Linked DNA regions of Homo sapiens: all the other regions are linked to region 3. Evidence: promoter capture Hi-C in 16 types of primary human blood cells and fetal thymus (Javierre and others, 2016). All regions are on one chromosome and are shown on one strand. The core of a region is centred on a gene start or on the middle of the fragment in contact, and the rest is flanking DNA. Distances in the headings are between cores, read along the strand shown. Region 1 overlaps PRRC2B (proline rich coiled-coil 2B). Region 2 overlaps PRRC2B (proline rich coiled-coil 2B). Region 3 holds the start of NUP214 (nucleoporin 214).

Region 1 (3,843 bases), core at 483-2,982, 280 kb after region 3:
AATTTTTGTATTTTTAGGAGAAACGGAGTTTCGCCATGTTGGCCAGGCTGGTCTCGAACTCCTGAGCTCAAGCGATTTGCCTGCCTCGGCTTCCCAGAGTGCTGGAATTACAGCCATGTGTAATCCCATGGTGGCAATGTTGAGCCACCTTGCCCTGCCAACCATTTTACTTTCTTTCTGTGAAACCGAATACTCTTAAGTACCTCATGTAAGTGAGATCATCCAGTATTTGTCATTTTGTGTCTGGCTTATTTTTAGCATAGTATTTCCAAGGTTCATCCATGTTGCAGCATGTGTCAGAACTAACTTCATTCTTAAGGCAGAATAATATTCTCTTATTTGCATGTATCTACCACATTTTATTTATTCATTCAGCGACGGGCAGCAGCCTGTAGATAGTTTTGTTTTCATGTATTGAATGGTCCTTTCCCCCAGTGGAGTGAGTAAATGCATCCGGAAGCAGAATTCTGTTGTTTCCCATTCATCACTGTGTGCCAGGTGTCTGAGAAGGGGGTCTTATAGGAGCCCACGCAGAAACCAAGCTCACCTCAGTCTGGGTGTGGGGCAGTCAGGGAAGGCATTCTGGAAAATGTAGCTGACTCGAAATAAGCACCTATTGAAAATAGTGTGCTGAGCCCTGGAACATTAAAAATGTGTTCCTATGTGGAAATCAGAAATGTATGGGTCCCAGAAGAGAACTTGTGGGTCAGCCTGCTTTCCAGAGAGTGCCGAGGCCCTTTGAATGGTGAACATTATGCAAGCATTCTTGTATGGCCAGTGGCCAGCAGGGAGGAGGGCAGAGAATGACTGTGCCTCCGGGAAGCCGGCGTCAACTTCCCGACACGCTTCAGGATCATCTCTTTGTATAGAACCATGGGATGGATCGCTGCAGGACCTACTGGAAAAAGGAGGTCATCTCCAGGACTCTTTCCATGGGTCCTTTGTGTCTTGCAGAACTTTTTTCGGCAGGTGTTGTTTACATATGGTTCAGAGCTTAAAGAACAGCTGTGTTCCAGGCCAGGGCAGAAAGCACAGGCCTGTCTGGGAGGGGCATCATCACTCCTGCCTGCCTGCCCAACCGACCTGTCGGTGGACTGAATGGGCCAAGTGTTCAGAAGTCCTTGGGAAGAGGATAGTGTCCTGAATCATAATGTGGTATTTTCTGGTTTTTTGTTTGTTTGTTTGTTTTTGGTAAAATGTTAATTGCAGAAGTATACAGGTTATTTTATTTATTTATTTATTTTTTTTTGAGGTGGAGTCTTGCTCTGTTGCCCAGGCCGGAGTGCAGTGGCATGATCTCGGCTCACTGCAACCTCCACCTCCCAGGTTCAAGCAATTCCCCTGCCTCAGCCTCTTGAGTAGCTGGGAGTACAGGTGCATCCCGCCACGCCTGGCTAATTTTTTTTTGTATTTTAGTAGAGATGGGGTTTCGCCTTGTTGCCCAGGCTGGTCGCAAACTCCTGAGCTCAGGCCATCTGTCCACCTCAGCCTCCCAAAATGCTAGAATTACAGGCGTGAGCCACTGCGCCTGGCCCATACTTTAAAAAAAAAAAAAAAAACAAAATTAAAAGCCAAGTGTTTGAAGAGAAATGAAAGCTTTTCCCCAATGTCCCAGGCAGTAACCATTATTGATAAATTTGCTTTGTTTATCCTTCTAGGCTCAGTGCACGTATAAATATGGCCTCATGTAGGGAGGTTTTTTAAAAAACAAAAATGGGATATACTATATTGTATTGCAACTTGGCATTTTCAAAATATCACAGTATTTTTCCATACGTATTTTTAAGCGTAACTTCTCTTATTTTTATTTTCAGTAATACTTTTTTTTTCTTCCTTAGGGATGTGGGGGTGGGTCTCGCTATGTTGACCAAGCTTGTCTTGAACTCCTGGCCTCAAGCTGTCTTCCCATCTTGGCCTCTGAAAGTGCTAGGATTACAGGTGTAAGCCACCACACCCAGCCATTTTTCCATATTCATGTGAACAGACCTGCCACACTAAGTGTTTTAAAAATAATGTTAGGTTTCTAAAAAATATACAGGTGTGTAAAAGAAGAAAAAATCGTTTATAATCCCATGGTTTAGATATTCCCAGTTGACTTTTTTTTTTTTTTTTTTTGGTGGTGGGGACAGAGTTTTGCTTGTTGCCCAGGAAGGCAATGGCGTGATCTTGGCTCACTGCAACCTCCGCCTCCTGGGTTCAAGCAATTCTTCTGCCTCAGCCTCCCTAGTAGCTGGGATTACAGGCATCCGCCACCATGCCTAGTTGATTTTTTTGTATTTTTAATAAAGACGAGATTTCACTATGTTGGCCAGGCTGGTCTCGAACTCTTGACCTCAGGCGAGCCACCCGCCTCAGCCTCCCAAAGTGCTGGGATTACAGGCGTGAGCCACTGCACCCGGCCCCCAGTTGACTTTTTAAAAAGAAAATTCAAGTTGCTCAGGGAGGTATAAAGGCTCTTCCCCACTCTCTCTGAAAAAAAAACCAGTGTGAGGAAGTTCTTGGGATTCCTCCCAGAAAAAAACCCACATTATCCACATGCACGTTTGTATTCTTCAAGCATGCTGCTGCCCTTTCACGTGATAAAATGTCTCAGCGTGCTCCCTGACAGCTACGCAGACGGATTATGTTATCTATTTTAGCAACTGCAGAGAATATTTTGTGGGTATACTTGATTTAACCTCTGTCTCCTACTGGTGGACATTTGGGCTATTTGTAGTTTTGGAATATTACACAATTTTGGTCAAACTGTACCAGATTTGTTTTCAAAAACATACAATTTGTATGTAAGCATGTAAGTGTGAGAATGTGGTTCTGCAGTGTGGACTCTTCAACTGAATAGCTTTTTGGTAAGAATTCTGCCAGATTTCTCTTCAGAAAACTTTGTATCAGCTTATATGTGTGAGCGTATGTTTCTGGACTATGGGCTTTTCTAAATGAACAGGCTTTTTGGATTGTTTTGGGTGTGCACATTTTCCAATCAAAAGCTACTGTTTGCGGCTTTCTGTGGTGAGCGTAGGGTCTGATGTTTTGGTGAGCTTGGGCAGACAGCGATCAGACACAGCAGCTCCGTTCACAGTGCAGAAGCGGCCACTGGAGGAGTTGCTCTGGGTGTCTTGTTAGGTGAAGGCCACTGTGGGAGCTGGAAGGAGGCGATAGACACAGCCAGGTCTAAGGTTGATTTTCTGTATCAAGTAAAATGATTGTCCTTGCTGCCTGTTTTCTTCCAACTGTTATACACTGGAGCCTGGTGCATAAAATTCAGAGACGGCCTCCATTTTAAGTTTTCTCATAGCCCCGTCTTTCACAGTCCTTGGTGGTTTTGTTGCTGTTAATATTCATTGCTGTTGGCGCTTTTGCAGCTCCTGATAGTGGCTGTTGTGCATATCTCACTTCTCGACTCAACCTCTTGGCGTCACTTGCCACCCCTCCTGCCCCCCACTTTGGTTTAGTTCTTCCAGGAGATCACACCATTGGTTGAAGTGACTGCAGAAATGAAGCACTGGAATGCCTGGGTGGTGGTGTTTCATCAGGCTAGGCTGGCGGGGATTTGTGCTCTGGCAAGAGGAGGTGCGGTTTGGAATTACACTGCTCTGGCTCCTGGGGGGGTTATTGTTAGCTGGAATTCAGAGAGAGCTCGCTGGGAGAGTTGGGAATGCCATGCCCCCTCTTCCTGGTGGAGAGTAGCTCTCCCTTGCAGGCACAGTGCAGCACCCCACACTGGAAGCCCTGCTTTGGGGTCAGCTGCCTTCAAGTCCAGGTTCTACCACTTAGAAGCTGGGTGACCTGGGGCCAGCTTTTAAATCTTTTTGAATCTCCATTCTCTTCCTCTGCAAAATGTGATAG
Region 2 (3,747 bases), core at 150-2,649, 330 kb after region 3:
ACCCCACAATTAGTTGGGCGTGGTGTGCACCTGTAGTCCTAGCTACTCAGGAGGCTGAGGTGGGAGGACTACTGGAATCCAGAAGGTCGAGGCTGCAGTGAGCCATGATTGCACCACTGCACTCCAGCCTGAGTGACAGAGTAAGGCCCTGTCTCAAAAAATTAATAATAACAATCATACCTATGGTTGTCATAATTTGTATTTTTTGAGTACTAGCAAGTAAGACTTTTTCCTTTGCTTCCTTTGTATAATGCCTGTTTCCTTCACATTTATCACTGCTTTCCGTTAAAATGTAATGTTTTATATTGTTTAGATGTTAATGCTTTGCTGTTGGTCTTGCAAATATTTTTCTCTGTTTTCTTGTCAATAACTGAATATTTGTTTAGTCAAATCTGTGAGTCATCTTTTTCTTTGTTATTTCATCCTTTACTTAAAAGCTTCCTAAAGTAAGTGCCCATCTTCTGGAAAGAGTTGGTAATAATCTTTGCTACTCTTTTTCTGATGACACACAAAAAATGAAATTCTGTAATTTCCTTTCATGCTGTTTGATTTCAGCTGAAGCTTTGGATGCAGTCGGGACATACCTATGGGTCAGTTCCTGGAACACTAAGCTCAGAAGGAGCTGTGATCAAGAATTAAAATCAAAGGCAAAGACATAAACTCTTAGAGACTGATTGGAGCAGTAGGACACTCTGTGTTCCTTGTCTCTTTGAGGCGATGGGAACTGCATATTCCCCTGAAGGAACTGGACATTGGTTTTGGAGACAGTTTTGCCCCTGACTTTGACCAAGGGCACTTCAAAATCAGAGTGCCCGAACGATCTCCTCCTGAAACCTGCTCTTTTTCTTCATGTTCTCTGAGCTGGTTGGTGACCTGGTAGAGACTTAGTGCATGCATCCATGTCTTATTTGGCATCTTTATTTCCTCATACACAATTGGCTCCCAAAACTTGCCCTGACTCTGTCTCCTCTTTTCATTTTCTCTGGGGCCACTGGGACCTCCTCCTTTTCCAGACCATCCATGGGTCCACCAGTTCATCTCCATCCTTTCAGCCTGTCCTCCATGGCCCGTCCTTGACACCCTGCCCATAGTCATCTTCTAAAAACACAGGTCTTTTAGACAGGTCAGCAGCTTTACTGTGGTCTCCATTTCTGACAAAGTCAGATAGGAATCACCGTTGTCCCCTCTGTAATTGTTGTCCCCTCTGTAATTTTCCCCTCTGTAATCTCCTAAGCTATGTTACCTGCCTCGTCTTCCCTCCCTCGCCACGTACGTGTGTGGGTAGACACACAGGCCCACACATCTGCCATCCCTGATTCCCGCTTTTCTCTGATCTGCAGTATTACCGGGCCCTTGCAAATGCTTTGCCCCAGCACCATTGCTTCCATTGTGAGGCGTCCAGACGAGCATGGCACCCATCCCCTTCTTGTCCAGCCACCCCTGCAGCTCTGTTTGGAACACCTCCTCCTTTTCCATGCTGTGTCGGCTCTGCTTGTCTCCTCTTGCTCTTTTTATTGTGGCACTGTTTAGTAGTCATCTTTTGTTCTTTTGAGGGGCATTTATTGAGCAACTGGCTTGTGCAGAGCATAGGGAGGGAGATGTACCAAAAGGAGACGGACACGCACCTGGGAGTCCTGGTTCAAATCTGTGAGCTCCTCCCTGTGAGGGGTGCCCCGTTAACCTTGATGAGACTCAGCTACTGACTTTTTAAATCAAGAGTGTCCAATCTTTTGGCTTCCCTGGGCCACACTGGAAGAGTTGTCTTGAGCCACACATAAAATACACTAACACTAACGATAGCTGATAAGCTAAAATGAAAAAGTTACGAAAAAATACCTCATAATGTGTTTTTATTTTTTTTTTTTTCTGAGACGGAGTCTCTCTCTGTTTGTTGCCCAGGCTGGAGTGTAGTGCCGCGATTTTGGCTCACTGCAACCTTCACCTCTGGGGTTCAAGCACTTCTCCCACCTCAGCCTCTAGTAGCTGAGATTACAGGTGCCTGCTACCACACCTGGCTAATTTTTGTATTTTTAGTAGAGACTTGGTTTCACCATGTTGGCCTGGCTGATCTGGAACTCCTGACCTCAAATGATCAGCCCGCCTCAGCCTCCCAAAGTGCTAGGATTACAGGCGTGAGCCACTACGCCCAGGCCCTCTTATAATGTTTTAAGAAAGTTTACGAATTTGTGTTGCGCTGCATCCAGAGCCCAGGGCCATCCTGGGCCACATGTGGTTGGACAAGCTTGCTTTAAAGTGAGGATCATGAGGACTTTTTTTTGCATCGGTGAAATAGTGTGACATATCGTGCCTGGGGCTCTGTTTAATGAGAGTGACTTGATAAATGGTGGGGCTGAACCGTGGAATTCACATGGAAGTAGTGGGAGTGGTGGTCCATTCTAATGAAGAAAATGATTTGGACAGCTGACTTGGGAATTCTCAAGGCCTCTGACCAGTGAGATCAGAAATGCTTGGCCTGAGTGCAAAAACTTAACATCAAATGTGGTTTGTCCTAGGAACAGTTGGGACCCTAGGAGGCAGCGGCAGTTGTCAATGAGCTCTGCAGACAGTGCGGACGCTAAGCGGACTCGAGAGGAAGGGAAGGACTGGGCTGAAGCAGTGGGTGCGTCCCGTGTGGTCCGAAAGGCGCCAGACCCTCAGCCACCGCCCAGGAAGCTTCATGGCTGGGCACCAGGCCCTGACTACCAGGTACCAAGGGCCCTTGGCTGTCCTGTGTATTTGTACTTCATTGAGTTGGGTGGCTGGGTTTCTGAGAAGTCCTAAGTGGGCATTTCTTTTTCATTTTTATATTTCTTCTTTTGTTAAAATGTTTTTTCATAGAGACAGGGTCTCACTATGTTGCCCAGGCTTGTCTCAAACTCCAGCTCAAGTGATGCCAAAGTGCTAGGATTACAGGTGTGAGCCACCATGCCCGGCTGTTCTTACTTTTTTTAAGATAAGGTCTTGCTCTATCCTTCACCTCCCACCCTCAAGCGATCCTCCCACCTCAGCCTCCTGAGTAGCTGGGACTACCTGTGTGCTGCCACACCTGGCTCATTTCATTCATTTTTTGTAGAGACGAGGTCTTACTATGTTGCCCAGGCTAGTCTTGAGCTCGTGGGCTCAAGGGATCCTCCTACCTCAGCCTCCCAAAGTGCTGAGATTATAGGCATGAGGCACTGTATTTGTCTTCTTGTTATAGTTAAAAAAAATTAAAACAGCCAGGCATGGTGGCTCACACAGTTTGCAAGGCTGAGGCAGGGGGATTGCTTGAGACCAGGAGTTCAAGACCATCCTGGCCAACACAGTGAAACCCTATCTCCAAAAAAAAAAAAAAAAAAAAAAGCCAAAGAAATAATTAAAACAGCTTCAAAGTGATAGAAAAGTTGGAAGTACATTACAAACAATATTTTTTCTAAACTGATTGAACAGTAAGTTGACAACCTGATGAGACTCTTTACACTGTGGTACTTGTTTCCTACCAAGATGGGGACATTCCACCCAGGTAACTACAGTTACTTCCAGGAAATTAGCCTTGATAATTGATTGTCGTTTAATCTGCAGGCCCCATTCAGCTTTTACCAGTTGTCCCATTAATGTCCTTACTCGAAATAATCCAGTTCAGAATCACACACCTCTAGCCTTCTTTATCTGGATCAGTTCCTCAGCCTTTCCTTCACTTTCATGACTTTGAGGCTTTGGAAGATTACAAGCCAGTGGAATGCCCCTCAAATTGGGTTTATCATCATC
Region 3 (3,843 bases), core at 999-3,498:
CTTGAATAAGCAATGTGCTGCAAGCCAAACAGTAAATGGCACAATCCGACCCCCCTGGAGCCAACCCATGAGGTCCAAGTTAAGAACCTCTGTCGGCCGGGCGCGGTGGCTCACGCCTGTAATCCCAGCACTTTGGGAGGCTGAGGTGGGCGGATCACGAGGTCAGGAGATGGAGACCATCCTGGCTAACACGGTGAAACCCCGTCTCTACTAAAAATACAAAAAATTAGCCGGGCGTGGTGGCGGCCGCCTGTAGTCCCAGCTACTTGGGAAGCTGAGGCAGGAGAATGCTGTGAACCCGGGAGGCAGAGCTTGCAGTGAGCCGAGATCGCGCCACTGCACTCCAGCATGAGTGACAGAGTGAGACTCCGTCTCAAAAAAAAAAAAGAACCTCTGTCCTAGAGCATTTATAATTCACTACAGAAATGTATTCTATGAAGGACTTTAATACCATCAGTCAGCCTTATCCAGACGATCTCAATTCTAATCCTGTCACCACCACTTTCTGACTGAGGGCTATTGGAGAATTTTCTCAACTTCTCTGTGCCTCCCTTACCTCATCAATTATTATTATGTATGTGTATGTGTGTGTGTGTATATATATATATATGTGTGTGTGTGTATATATATATGTGTGTGTGTGTGTGTATATATATATATATATATATATTTTTTTTTTTTTTTTTTTTTTTTTCTGAGACAGAGTCTCACTCTGTCACCCAGGCTGGAGTGCAGTGGCACAATCTTAGCTCACTGCAACCTCCACCTTTTGTGTTCATGCGATTCTCCTGCCTCAGCCTCCTGTATAGCTGGGAACACAGGCGTCCGCCACCACACCCGGCTAATTGTTGTATTTTTAGCAGAGACGGGGTTTCACCATGTTGGCCAGGCTGGTCTCGAGCTCCTGACCTCAGGTGTTCCACCCACCTCGGCCTCCCAAAGTACTGTGGTTACAGGCGTGAGCCACTGCTCCCAGCCTATTTTTATTTACTTTTTTTTTTTTTTTTTTTTTGAGACGGAGTCTCGCTCTTTCGCCCAGGCCAGACTGCAGTGGCGCTGTCTCTGCTCACTGCAACCTCCGCCTCCCGGGTTCACGCCATTCTCCTGCCTCAGCCTCCCGAGTAGCTGGGACTACAGGTGCCCGCCACCGCGCCCGGCTAATTTTTTGTATTTTTAGTAGAGTCGGGGTTTCACCGTGTTAGCCAGGATGGTCTCCATCTCCTGACCTCGTGATCCGCCCGCCTCGGCCTCGCAAAGTGCTGGGATTACAGGCGTGAGCCACCGCGCCCGGCCTTTTATTTACTTTTTGAGACAGGGCCTGGCTCTGTCACCCAGGCTGGAGTGCAATGGTGCAATCACAGCTCCCTGTAGCCTCAACCTCCTGGGCTCAGGCAATTCTCCCACCTCAGCCTCCCGAGTAGCTGAGACTACATACGCATGCCATCACTGCTGGCTAATTTTTGTGGTTTTGTTTTGTTTTTTATAGAGACGGGGTCTCGCCATGTTGCCGAGGCTGGTCTCAAACTCCTGGTCTCAAGCAATCCTCCTGTCTCCGCCTCCCAAGTGCTGGGATTATAGGCATGAGCCACCCGCGTCTCATCAATTAAATAAATAACCCCTAGGACGACTAAGATGTCTTCAAGATTACATGAGATCCCACATCTGAAGGTTTTTGCAAAGGACTTGGCACAAACTCGTGCGACTAGACATGGATATGGCTCTTGCTCTGGAAAGGATCACCTTGATAGGAGCAAACAAAGCTGGTCTTCGGTGCCCTTTAATCTCCCCTCCCAGCCTTCCACCTTCCACACTTTAAGAGTCGTCCCTGCCGACCCCCCGACCCCGTTTTTCTGAACCTCCCTTCCTCCCCTTGCATAGTCCAAAGCCTCTCTCTAAAGCAGCCCCCCGAAAACATCTGTCAAGTTCCAAACTTATCTGAATCGGAAGCTACCAATAGCCAACCTACATCTAAGGGGAACTGTAAGATTTCAGAAGAACAAGAAGCATAGGTCGCTTAGGCGTGGGCCACCCAAGAAGAGAGACTTAACACTAGGTAAGCCCGCGCTGGCTGCGAAGGCGGGAGCGGCACCAGGACCATCCAGGGCGCAGGCGCAGGGACCTCACGGCCACGCCACTACTCAGCCCGAGCTGGCCAATGGGGAGCGGCGGCCGGAAGAACGCGCGGCTTCGCTAGGTTCCGCGGCTTCCTCTGACCAAGCTTGACGTCACCAAAGCGCGCCGGAAATGCGAGGTCAACTGCGCGCCGCTGGCGCTGAGGGGAGGAAGTTTGCTGTCGAGCGGCCTGGGTTCCGTGGGCAAGGCCGTGGGAGGCAGCGTTGGCTGCTTCGACACACTGAGGGCGGCGCGATGGGAGACGAGATGGATGCCATGATTCCCGAGCGGGAGATGAAGGTCAGAGACTAACCGGGGCCTCCCTCCCTTCTTTAGTCCTGGCGTTGCCTTGGAGCCCAGCTGAAAGGCGAAGCGCGGTGCTGGCTGTCCCGCCTCCTGCTTGAACAGTTTACCGCGTTCACAGCTCTCACCAGCGCGTCTGCCGCGCCGCTGGCGTGATAGCCCCACCGAATGCAGTTTCCCAGTCCCATCCTGGTCTCGTGCACGGCTGTTGAGTTACCCTAGCTACTTCCTGGGGCGGTCACAATAGTGGCAATAACTGCTGTTTATTGAGTGTTGACTGTGTGCCAGGCACTGTGGTAGTCATCGCGGCAGCCCTACGAAGTAGTCGTTAACGTAGAGGAGTAAGTTGAGGCTCGGAAAGTAATTTCCCTAAAGTCACATTTGACGCGGGGCTGAAAGCCAGCATCATTTAAGACCTTTGCTCTCCCAGTACTTCTGTAAGGTGATACGGGCTTGCCTAACGTAGAGTCAGGGAAGGTCATCCATCCTGCAGAACCTTTAGTTGATTGGACTAGGAAGACTATTTTGACCTCGGTATATCAGCCTAAAGTCAGGAACCTAAAGGGAGGGCCAAGTGGTCCCAGTGATAGCAACGTGGGAGTCCCCCAGGGATAACTTCAGGATGGTGTGTTTAATAGTTCTTATATGGGTTCTGACAGAATGAGGGTACAACAGACGGGCTACATCTGTTTTAAATAGTGAAAAGAAGTAAGTTGCAGGAAGATTTTAGGCATCTGTGTGAACAATAAATCACTAAAATGCATTTAGGGCATAGTAATACCATGTTTAGAATAGTGATTTTTTTTTTTTTTTGAGACAGAGTCTTGCTCTGTCACCCAAGCTGGAGTGCAGTGGCATGATCTCGGCTCCCTGCAACCTCCACCTCCCCGGCTCAAGCGATTCTCCTGCTTCAACCTCCCTAGTAGCTGGTATTACAGGCGCCTGCCACCACGCCCCACTAATTTTTTATATCATTTGGTAGAGACTGGGTTTCACGATGTTGGCCAGGCTGGTCTCGAACTCCTGACCTAACGTGATCCGCCCTCCTCTGGCTCCCAAAGTGCTGGGATTATAGGCGTGAGCTACCGTGCTGTCCTAGAATAGTGATTATTTTTTGAGAATCACCACCTGTGGTGAGCCACCTAATGGGGTTGTGTCATATTCCTCAGATATGCTGGGGTAGAAGAAAAAAAGGTTTTATTAATAGAACCACAGACTTAGAAGATGGTAATCTCGCACTCCCTTTGGCAGCACATATAAAATTGGGATCATGCAGAGAAGACTATTATGGCCCCTTTACATGGATGACAGACAAATTCATGAAGTGTTCCATATCAGAAAAAAATGAGGGCCGAGTGTGGTGGCTCATGCCTGTGAGCTTGCACTTTGGGAGGCTGAGGTGGATGGATCACTTGAGGTCCGGAGTTC

The links. Contacts are between HindIII fragments. The CHiCAGO score rates a contact against its expected background, and 5 or more counts as called.
Region 1: a fragment that was not itself captured here is called in contact with the fragment with the promoter of NUP214 in region 3 in 1 of 17 cell types (erythroblasts); the score reaches 5.3 in erythroblasts.
Region 2: a contact is called between a fragment that was not itself captured here and the fragment with the promoter of NUP214 in region 3, in 1 of 17 cell types (erythroblasts). The highest score is 5.3, in erythroblasts.

The regions. Positions count from the first base shown.
Region 1 is chr9:131,402,121-131,405,963 of GRCh38, forward strand. The region is part of intron 1 of PRRC2B (proline rich coiled-coil 2B); the gene reads left to right. Among named protein-coding and RNA genes, the nearest start is that of PRRC2B, 10 kb to the left of the region's middle. RefSeq lists an enhancer at 1-138. The HindIII fragment of the contact is 276 bases long and covers 1,595-1,870 here.
Region 2 is chr9:131,456,651-131,460,397 of GRCh38, forward strand. It overlaps PRRC2B (proline rich coiled-coil 2B), which reads left to right. Exons shown (of 32, transcript NM_013318.4): 11 at 2,514-2,706. Among named protein-coding and RNA genes, the nearest start is that of SNORD62A, 27 kb to the right of the region's middle. The HindIII fragment of the contact is 1,681 bases long and covers 560-2,240 here.
Region 3 is chr9:131,123,338-131,127,180 of GRCh38, forward strand. NUP214 (nucleoporin 214) reads left to right here and starts at 2,249. Exons shown (of 36, transcript NM_005085.4): 1 at 2,249-2,412. The coding sequence starts at 2,368. It also overlaps the pseudogene RNU6-881P. RefSeq lists an enhancer at 2,148-2,447. The HindIII fragment of the contact is 3,004 bases long and covers 2,217-3,843 here.